Linked DNA regions of Homo sapiens: region 2 is linked to region 1. The links are contacts of gene promoters, found by promoter capture Hi-C in human tissues and cell types (Jung and others, 2019). All regions are on one chromosome and are shown on one strand. The core of a region is centred on a gene start or on the middle of the fragment in contact, and the rest is flanking DNA. Distances in the headings are between cores, read along the strand shown.

The links. Contacts are between HindIII fragments. The study calls those that stand out against the background at their distance.
Region 2: a contact is called between a fragment that was not itself captured here and the fragment with the promoter of ASIC3 in region 1, in 1 of the 25 tissues and cell types used here (thymus).

Annotation. Positions count from the first base shown.
Region 1 is chr7:151,045,555-151,050,836 of GRCh38, forward strand. It overlaps ASIC3 (acid sensing ion channel subunit 3), which reads left to right and starts at 2,977. Exons shown (of 11, transcript NM_004769.4): 1 at 2,977-3,865; 2 at 4,552-4,702; 3 at 4,927-5,054; 4 at 5,204-5,282. The coding sequence starts at 3,332. It overlaps ABCB8 (ATP binding cassette subfamily B member 8), which reads left to right. Exons shown (of 16, transcript NM_007188.5): 16 at 1-2,228. RefSeq lists an enhancer at 4,489-5,127. The HindIII fragment of the contact is 19,092 bases long and covers 1-5,282 here.
Region 2 is chr7:149,629,643-149,634,924 of GRCh38, forward strand. No RefSeq gene overlaps it. Among named protein-coding and RNA genes, the nearest start is that of TRC-GCA9-3, 3.4 kb to the right of the region's middle. The HindIII fragment of the contact is 5,408 bases long and covers 69-5,282 here.

The DNA.
Region 1 (5,282 bases), core at 1,727-4,226:
TCCCTCCCACCAGAGTCTGCCAGAGTCATTGGGCTGCAATGGGCAGAGACAGAGTTCCACGAGACACCTCCACTCTATTCTCCCTTTGCCCAGACCCCTCCAGACCTCTCAAGAGACGTTCTGGCCAGTCTCCCTGCCCCACCCAGCAGCTTCAAATTGGCCAGGCCTACAGTAGCTCCAGGGAATTTTTAAAAATCAGGGTCTGGAAGTGGGCCTGGGAATTCAAACCTAGGCTCTTCCCACACCCTTGCTAGGACCTCACTTCCCTAGACTGGCGACTGACTCCCTCTCCTGTGTCCCCACTCCCTCCATGGGAGAAGGAGCCTATCCCCTGGCTCACCCCGGGACCCACAGTCCCCATCTTCCAAACAACCTCCCTCCTTTCTCCCTGCACAGTGAACACAGTCCTGATTTCTAGATTTCACCTCCCCTCCCCACCCACAAGGGACACAGGCCTAACAGGGCCCAACACTTGGGTCAGGGTAGGAGGGACGGGGCCACAATGGCCAGTTCCCACGAGAAGCGCCAGCCTGCCTGGCTGTCTTCCACCGGCCCTGCCCTGTGTGCCTGGCGTCTTTCACCCACTGAGATTGTGAACCAGCCTCCATCTACACCAAGAACACCCAGCACTGAAGGAGATGGGAGGGGCTGATGCCCACCTGGAGCTCTCTGCTTCCTGCCCACAGTGCTGACGAGTACAGAGCTAAATGGAGCAGCTACTGCAGAATCCAGTACAGAATCGGTCCAGGAGGGTGCGGCTGTGGACAGGCCAGCATCCCCAGCAGGTTCTGGGAGGCGCACCTTGAAAGGGGAAGGCAGACATCCTGAGTGATGGGCGCCTGTGGCCCTGAGACTGTGGATGAGGGGGCTAGGCTCCAGCTGGCTTCTGAGGGGCCTGGAAAGGCACACAAGTAGGTCCTTGGCTGAACTGGTGCCCCAGCAGGACCTCGTGTCCCTGCACTGCTGCAGATGCATCAGCCCTCCCCATGTTGGTGCCGCTGTCACTTCCTACTGGGATCCTTCCCCTATCCAGCCACATCCAGGCTGTGGGACTACACGGTGCCCTGTTCCCCTGGGCAGGAGAAGAGGTGGTACCTGCAATGCACCTTCACAGCCAGGCAAGCATTCTGGATTTACCCTGTGTAAAGAAGGGTGGTACCCTCTTTCAGGGGTGTGATACAGTGCATTGATGGAGCAGCTGGTGCTGCTGGGAGGCCAGCCTGGAAGAGGCAGCAGTGGCTCAAGTTTGCGTGCAGGAGCCAGAGTGGGACCCACGGGCTCTTGTGGGTGTGGTTTAGAACTAGATGGTGCTTTGGGGACAAGCCATCCAAAAACCCCAGGCCCACATCCACCCTGATTTGATATCCCACTTCCTGACAGATCAGAGGCTGTGTCTTTAAGCAGTGGAGGTCCAGGAGCAGAGCCTGGGGCTGGTTCACAGCTAAACCCCTCCTTAGGGCAGCCCAGAGTAGGGCCTCAGCTGGCAAGTCCACAAGCCCTGCTGGGGCCCTGCTTGTTGGCCTGACCCCTCCCTCACCAGGCAGCCAGCCAAGGTGGTTCCTGCTTCACCCACTCAGTCATCAGCCTCAGGCTGCCCAAAATGCCTCTGACACCAGATTTATATCTTCTGGGCGGCTTCTTTAAATCCAGCCCTTCACCCGCCCCCTAGAGAAGCAGTGAAACCCCTTGGCTAGTCCAGCTGGAAGAGCTAGACCGCAGGAGCCGCGCCGTCTTCCTAACCTCGCCTCGGCCTTCGCTCCACAGTGGAGAGTGGGAGCCTAGCTGTGCTTGATGCTGAATGCCTGTTTTGAGAGTGTGAGTGGGATCATCTACAGTAAATACTTGCAAAGCATGGCACTGTGGCTCTGGGGAGCTGGTACGCCTGTGCTGTAACCATGGTACTCAGTCCTTCCAAAGTGTTTATTAATCAAGCACCTGTCATGTGCCATTGAGCCCACGATGGGGAATGAGGACAGTCCCTGCCCCCATGAAGCTTGTGTCCTGTTGGGAGGACAGACAGGTGGCCCAGCAGTTGCAGCATGGTGTGTGCACACGTTTGGCTGGTGGAACCATGTTTCTACCACTCATGGTCAAAAAAAGCCCACCAAAGTCCTGGGAGTTCACATCTGTGTGATGATACGGCAACATTGTTTGTAATGGAAAGACTGGACACCCCCAGTGCCCATCAGTGGGGGAGTCATTAAATAAACTATGGTATGTGCACATAATGGGTGGTATGCAGCCCTTTGGAAAAATGTAGGTTTTCCAGGTCCTGGATATAGCAGCGTAAGATGGGAAATCACAGAATACCCATGTTGTGCCTGAGATGGCAGGTGGGGTACCCGTGGTACCCGGGAGGGTGGCAGGTGGGGCACCCATGTTCTACCTGGGGTGGCAGGTGAGCCCATAACCATTGTAGAGGCCAACATCCTCAGAGGCCTGAGTGTGGGGAGGTAGGCTTTGACTCCCTAGGGAGAGAGGGACACTTAGGAAACAGACGGGCCCTGGAAGTGGGACATGAAGAGTGCCCTGGCCATCCAGTGTAGGCTGAGATGCTAGGGGCACAGAAAGAAGAGATCTGCTGATGCCAGCCTTCCAACCATTTCCCAGCTTGGCCAAGAGCCAGCTCTGGTATTCGTGAAGGAACAGATCCTGGGTGAAGCTAGAGGGAAGGCCGCAGAGGCAAAAGGAGAGAGGAGCTAGGCCAGGGGTCAGCGACTGACCCTCGCGGCCAGTGTACAGGGGTTGCAACTGGGAGCCTAGGGGGCCCCAAGGCATCTCCAGGCCCAATCTACCTCTGGGCTTTTCTCAAGCTCTCCCTAGGATTACTGCGGTTTCCTCCTGGCGCCTCTCGTCTTGGACAGCCATGCCCCCCTCCATGCTGCACTAATGGCTCAGCCTGGGGCCCTAGGGACCTCTCCTACCCCCCAGACTGCTCTGTCGGCCCCCTTTCCCCCCTACTGCTGAAACCCAATCCTCTGCAGCAGCGCCGGCTCAGCACCGCCGGCTCAGCACCGCTCCGCAGCCCCTGCCTGCCACGGTCAGCTACGTCCCACCTGGTCTGCTGCGGAGTCCCCAGCCCAGTGCCTAGCCCAGTGGAGCCACCGCCTGTTCCTCGGGAAGGAACAGTGGGACCTGACCGGCCAGATCACCTCCTCCAATCCTGCCAGGCTAGTGCCTCCCTGCCTTCCAACCTTGGCTGTCTCCCACCCTCTCTTCTCCTCTCCTTGCCTGGCCTCCTGAATCCTATCTTAGCCTCCTTAGCCCCCTGACTGACTCTCTCTCGCTTCTTCCAAGCCTCTGTAGCTGGTTCCGCTCCTGGGTTCTGGCCATGAAGCCCACCTCAGGCCCAGAGGAGGCCCGGCGGCCAGCCTCGGACATCCGCGTGTTCGCCAGCAACTGCTCGATGCACGGGCTGGGCCACGTCTTCGGGCCAGGCAGCCTGAGCCTGCGCCGGGGGATGTGGGCAGCGGCCGTGGTCCTGTCAGTGGCCACCTTCCTCTACCAGGTGGCTGAGAGGGTGCGCTACTACAGGGAGTTCCACCACCAGACTGCCCTGGATGAGCGAGAAAGCCACCGGCTCATCTTCCCGGCTGTCACCCTGTGCAACATCAACCCACTGCGCCGCTCGCGCCTAACGCCCAACGACCTGCACTGGGCTGGGTCTGCGCTGCTGGGCCTGGATCCCGCAGAGCACGCCGCCTTCCTGCGCGCCCTGGGCCGGCCCCCTGCACCGCCCGGCTTCATGCCCAGTCCCACCTTTGACATGGCGCAACTCTATGCCCGTGCTGGGCACTCCCTGGATGACATGCTGCTGGACTGTCGCTTCCGTGGCCAACCTTGTGGGCCTGAGAACTTCACCACGGTGAGCTGACCTCCCTACCTATCCTGCCAGGGACCCAGAGAGCCGACCAGTCCCTGCCCAGCACCCACAATTCCCTAGCCAGCACAGGCTCCCCCAAAGCCAGGGGACCTCTTCCTTCCTACCAGCCATGGACTCCCCACCCCCCAGTGCCACTCCGTGCAGCCCAGGAAGCTGTCCTCCTTGGGGCTTTCTCTGTCTCCCAGCCCGAGGGGAGCATGTGAGGCCACACTGACCCCGGCTGGCCCTAGGCCTGAGGTCTGGCCCAGGGAGGCCCTGCTCCTGGGGCTGGGGGTCCTCCATGGTGGGACCATTCTGGGGCAGAAGACCCCTATCTCTGCCAGGAGGTGGGGGGGGCTTGCTTTCCCTCTGCCTTTTCAACATACTGCCAGCCCCGGAGGACAGCCACAGGGGCCCATTTCCTTTTCCTGCAGTTCCCAGAGAAACACAGAAAAACCTGTAGGCTGTGCCCTGGGCTTTGGTGGGGATTGGCGGGGTGGAGGAGCTGAGTTGATGGGCTCCCAAGAGCGTCCTGCAACATGTGCCCACTGGAGCGTGGGGCTGGGGGCATTGAGATGCGGGCTTCAGTATTCAAAGAAGAGACGCAAACATACCATGAGGTGGGGAGAGGTCCCATGACCATGTGCCTGCCTGGGGGAGATGGCCATCACCCTGTCTGCCCGCCCCAGATCTTCACCCGGATGGGAAAGTGCTACACATTTAACTCTGGCGCTGATGGGGCAGAGCTGCTCACCACTACTAGGGGTGGCATGGGCAATGGGCTGGACATCATGCTGGACGTGCAGCAGGAGGAATATCTACCTGTGTGGAGGGACAATGGTAGGGAGCACACAAATGAGGCTGGGGGAGGGCACGGATGGAGTGCAAAAGGCTAGGGGAAGGAGAGGAGGAGAGGAGGTGTCAGGGTGTTCCCCCAGAACCTGTGAAAGGGGCTGGGCTGGCTCATCCCAGTCCTGGGGAGAGGGGCTGCAGTGAGAGGTCTTGTCTGGTTGGGCAGGAGACCTGACCACACAGGTCAGGCCTCACAGGTCCCTCCCCGACAGAGGAGACCCCGTTTGAGGTGGGGATCCGAGTGCAGATCCACAGCCAGGAGGAGCCGCCCATCATCGATCAGCTGGGCTTGGGGGTGTCCCCGGGCTACCAGACCTTTGTTTCTTGCCAGCAGCAGCAGGTACCCTTCCGTGTGCCTCCACACCTACTACTTCAAGCCCACACCACCTCAGACCCTAAACCCTCAGCTCCTCAGACCTGTCTAGGGGCCTCTCCCCAGCTGGCCTCTCACGCTCTCCGGGAAGCCTCCTTAACCCTGTCCCCCCACAGCTGAGCTTCCTGCCACCGCCCTGGGGCGATTGCAGTTCAGCATCTCTGAACCCCAACTATGAGCCAGAGCCCTCTGATC
Region 2 (5,282 bases), core at 1,523-4,022, 1.4 Mb before region 1:
AAAGTCTTACTATCTTTACACTGAATGGCAGGAAAACACAACAGAGAAGCAGGCATTGAAGACAGAGCCTGGTCAAGTGTAGTGTCACTTGAGGCTCTGCCTAATTTGACCATTTAGCAAATGGTGCTTTGCTCTACTCCCCTGAGTTGAAAATATTCTGTATCCTGTGACCTTTCTTTTTAGTATAAGATGTAGGAGCCTGAATAACAGAACTTCTTTTATCTTTGGTGACGTGCTTTATAATTTTCTTTTCCTTAAAGCAGATTCCTTTTGTTAACAAAATATTCGAATTTTTTATTTAGTACTTTTTTTTTCCTCCAAAAAGTGGCATTGGTAACTCAAACAAGAAATGCTAGAGGGGATGGACACCCCAATCCCCATGATGAGCTTATTTCGCATCGCATGCCTCTTCCAAAACAGCTCATGTGCCCCGTAAATATATATACCACTTTGTACTCACAAAAGCTTACATTTTTTAAGAAGTGGCTTTTGCTGTTCCAGTTTCACACTTAGAGCTTTGGCCTAGAACTTGGGTACTTGCCCCTTTCCCGTCCCTGCCCTCCAATGCCTTCTGATAGTGAAAATGGTCTCTTGGGGCAGCCTCCTTCCTGTATCCCCATTACTGTTTTAGCTCCTCCACCCAAGCCCGCCAGCCCTCCAGCTACTCTATAAACAGTCTCCTTCCTCCTTAACCTTGCCCTGGGAGTCTGCCTTTTTATCCCTCCTTGTACATCTGAAGGCCAGCTTTCCCGTGAAGCCATCCCTCCCCTTCAACCTCCAGAACTGAGAGGGTGGGGTCACCTTCTCAGCCTCATTCTCCATGTTGCCCCCAAACCCCAGCTCCTCCACCATCCCTCCCTGCTTCTCTCTCAAAGCCATCTCCTTTCACCACGCTCTCCTCTCCACATTCATGTCTTCTCCACAAACCTAGTGGAAATTTTTAGAACTAGGCTAACAATCGTATTTTCCTCACCTCCTCCTGCTTTCATTCTCGGGAATGTCAAACTCCAAGGTAATGTGCTTCCAATGCTAAGGCCTCCCAAGATTTCCATCTTCCTGGCTCTAGGAATGTTCACAAACTCCGTTCACTGCGGCCTTCAAGGTGTGTGGTGAGGCAGAGATTCAGAGTTTTCCACCAGTGTCTTCTACCCTGCCTTTTGGTTATCAGCTGAGCACATGGCTTCCCAGAAGAAAAACTGCATTTCCCAGACCCCCTTGGAGCTGTGAGGCCATAGGCATAAGGCTGGTCAATGAGATGCAGGTGAAAGTGATGGGTGTTCTTATATGGAGAGGCTTGTCTTTCCTCCTTCCTACTGGCTGGGAGGTCGATGAGATGCTAATGTGGGTGATGGCATGCTGGAATGAAAGCCAAGCCAGCCAGACAGCCACAAAGAAGAAATCGGGTTCTTGACCCTATGGAAAGCCATGCCTGGACCACCTAGCTGTGGACTTTTATGTGGGAGAAAAGGAAGCTTCTGGTTTGTTTGCTTGTTTTTGTTTTGCTTCCATCCTTTGTTATTTTGGGTGTTCAGCATTCATAGCCAAACCTGATCATCACTTAAACTATTCCCTTTCAAGATCTTAGAATCAGAAAAGTCCTTTTATGACACGTTTTCTGATGTTTACATGTTCTTACTGTTACCAAAAATGTTTCATTATCCTCATTTTGACCTTAATCTTGTCTACCTCTCTCTGTTCCCATGACCGCAGGGCCACCTTGGGGCTCAGCTATCTGCCTGCCCATTATTGATCCCATGTTTGGCCTCTCAGTCATGATTCCAGCTCCTTTGAGAGCTTGGTCTGTGGTCTATCTACCTCTCTCATGAGCCCTTCTGCTTCCGCGGATACACACGCCTTTGGCCTTTCCCACCTTTGCTCTGGGGAAGCCAGTCTTTGATGGAGTAAATTGTAGAGCCAGGCAAATGGTCCCACTGCAAATCTACACCAGTTTGACCTCAACCAGTGCCTCTCTCTAATGAGCAATGATTCTATTCCTTTCTAATTCACTTCTTCTCCATTTCCCACAGTGCCTGATTCACACTTTGCCCTTCTTCCCAAGTAATGATTCCCACCCTACCTCCTTTATTCTCTTTGGAAGACTTTGTTTTCTATCTGACTGAGAAGACCAAGGCCATGGAGGCCCCCCAGCATCCTCTGCTCTGCATCTTCACCTTCTCCTCATCCCCTCCAGGCTAAGAGGAAAAGCCTGCCTGCTCCTCTCTAGAGCACATCCTGTGTTCTTTATCCACCCTTTGGCTTTCCCTGGGATCTCCTTCCATTAATATATCCTCTCTTTTTTATTGACACATTTGAGCATATTCATATATGTACTGGCCATTCATGATATACAGGGAACCCTACAGGCACATCTTTGCAGCAATTATGGTGAACTGTGTGTGCTTTGATAGACATACAGGAGCCATGGAGCATGTGGCAGGGGTCCCACCCATCAGGAGGGTCAGGAGGGCTTCCCAGGAGAACACCCACCCAAGTGCTCCACTTCACTGAGACTGTGCTTGTCACAGTCCTTGGTGACCATGTGTCATGGGTGATTCTCATCTTTAATTCAAGCCCTCAGTAGCATTTTTTTTTCAATCGACATTGGGGCTGTCACTCTTTTTCTGTTGTTTTCTTTGTACTTCTCTGCCACTTTTCCTCAATCTCTTTTGCTGGTTTCTCCTTAACATCCCCATTTTTAAACATTCGAGGGCCCAGGTCTTAGTTCCTAGACCACTTTTCTTTTCACTCCCACTTCCTCAGTGCTCTCATTCCATCCTGCGGCTTTAATGGGATGATGACCCTCAAATTTATATCTTTAGCCAACACCTCCCCTTCGAACTCCAGCTTCATTTTTGACATCTCCATTAGACCATTTAACAGATGGATTCAATTTAATACATCACAGATTGAACTCCTGACTTCCACCACCCCCTCAAATTTCATTTCTGCTGCAATGAAAATGGCCATCTCAGAGAATGGCCCCCCCATCCCGCCGGGTGCTCAGGACAGAAAACCTTGGCATTATCCTTGACTTTTCCCTTTCTCTCACACCCTGCTCTCAAATCATCAGCAAATCCTGTTCACACTGCTTCAAAATATATCCAAAATCTGACCACTTCTCATTGCCTCCACCATCAGACAAAGCTGAAATCATCTCTCATCCAGGTTATGGTGACAACTTCCTGAACTTGTGTCCCGGCTTCCATACATGTCCTCTAGTGCCCTCAGGCCAGCCAGAGGACGAAATCAGCTTATGTTATTCCTCTGCAAGAAATCCTCCAATCACTCCCATCTAATCCAGAGTGGAAGCCCATGTCCGTACACAACCTATCCCAATGGTGACTGAAACAGACATGGGCTCTTGAAACTAGAGGAATAGATCAAGATGTACAAATGTTCACAGAAGTTAAAAATGGAAAATATGAGAAATACTAGATGGTAAGATGCAGGGATATTATAAGACTATTACTGGGATATCAAAGCGATTGCAGGAGGTAAGGACACTTTCCTTGAGGAAGTGATGTTTCATTCATGGCGTACTGGTAAGGTGAAATATTTGTGGTAGTTATTATGCATAAGTAGTGTGTATACCATTGGGGCTGATGTGAAAAATTCTCTCTCTTGGGTAGTGTGGCCATCCTGCTGGCTTTTTCCAGGGCACCTACTGTCCATTTTAGCCATAGAAGCTGGTGCTGGAGTTCACCTCCTTTGCCCAGCTAAGGCTTCTGCACAGTGAGATGAGGCAGGTAGTGACTCCCGCCCCAGGAAACTCTCACTGATCCCTGTGGTCTCCTTGGGCTGCCTCTGTCTGTGCCTTGTGTGTGTTTCACTCTCCCAGCCCCTTTTAGGACCCCCTGAGAGTCCACATTGGGACACCTGGAGCCAGTCTTCACCACATCATGCCCACCAGAGGAGACAAGTTCTCTTTTATGAAGATGGAATTTGCCATCACAAAAGAGGCTTGCCCATCTGCTCTCTTCTTCCTTGCTGAGGGCAATATTGCATAGTTTCCGGAAGGTGGGGCAGGGAAATTTGAGAGGAAAATTTGCCCAACTGACTTCTTTTCATCTATACTTTTACTTCCTTGGGCTCTTAGGTCTCTTACTACCTCTGGTTTTGTGAAGAGCCACCCCCTGGCAAGGTCAGTCATGCCTGGAGTTCCCATGCCATGTAAAATTGTCTGTATGCTGGTACAAGGACTCCAACTATTGCTAACCTTCTAGTCTCCTTACAGTTAGCACATTGGTCTGAGTAATTTATGTAATTTCCCTATTGGAAGCTTAGGGCAGTTTCCGAGGGGAATTCTAATGTAGGAGGAAGAGGGGACTCTGGGGTAGGGTGGCCACAGTGTGCAGTTGATTCCTTGTTGATGTTCGCTCCAGCATGAGCTGCACACCAGCTGGCTACTTCCACAGGCACACTCAATGCAGGAAGCCATCTCCTAAGGACAGTCACTGACTCTTTTTAGGGCCACCACAGTGAGATCCAGACTGAGAAGACAGGAGCTCGCCTGGTACTTGGGGTCGTAGGACCATTTCAGGCAGAGAGGGCTTCAGATTCCTCCTTCTTCATGCAGGGGCCATTGGATTCGTACAAGAGCTGCATTAGTTGCTCTCTTTCTTGCTCTTCAGGAGGGCTTCCTAGCAACTGCCCTGCTGCCCCCACCCCAACTCAGCCATCTCTCTCATACAGGGAAGACGACTTGTCTATTTCTCTTGCTGTATATGTGGTTTTATCACTGAGCAGGGGACTTGTCCCTTCCTTGATCGTCTTCCTCGAGGTATGACTAGAAAGACCTTTCTCTGCCTTTAATAATGCTGACACCATCATTTTGACCTGATTGTAAGCCCCAGCTGACTCGGGAGGGCAGCATTGGCATTTTTATTTTTACTGATTCCTGCACAGTTTATACACCTCCTTGGGCATGGTACTACCTGACTATACTAGGTCCTCACCATCCGAGAGGCCTCTGGGGAGGCAGTAGGTCAGGGTGGAGAAGGCACGTGTGGAAGGGGGTGCTGTGGGACTCAACTCAAGTGTGGCTGAGGGACAGGGGGTCAGGGCCTGGGTGCTGGGCACAGGACACAGGCAGCAGGGATGCCCCGGCCCATTGTGGGTGCCTTTTGCCCTCAGACTCACCACCCCCATGGTGATGTTCCAGCCGGGTGGACAGTGGACAACTGCTGTGTGAAAAAAGAGTGACAGCATCAGAGGGGAGGGGCTGAACACTGGGAGGGATGAGAGCTGCCTGGAAGGAACGGGGCAGAGGAACTGGATGAGAG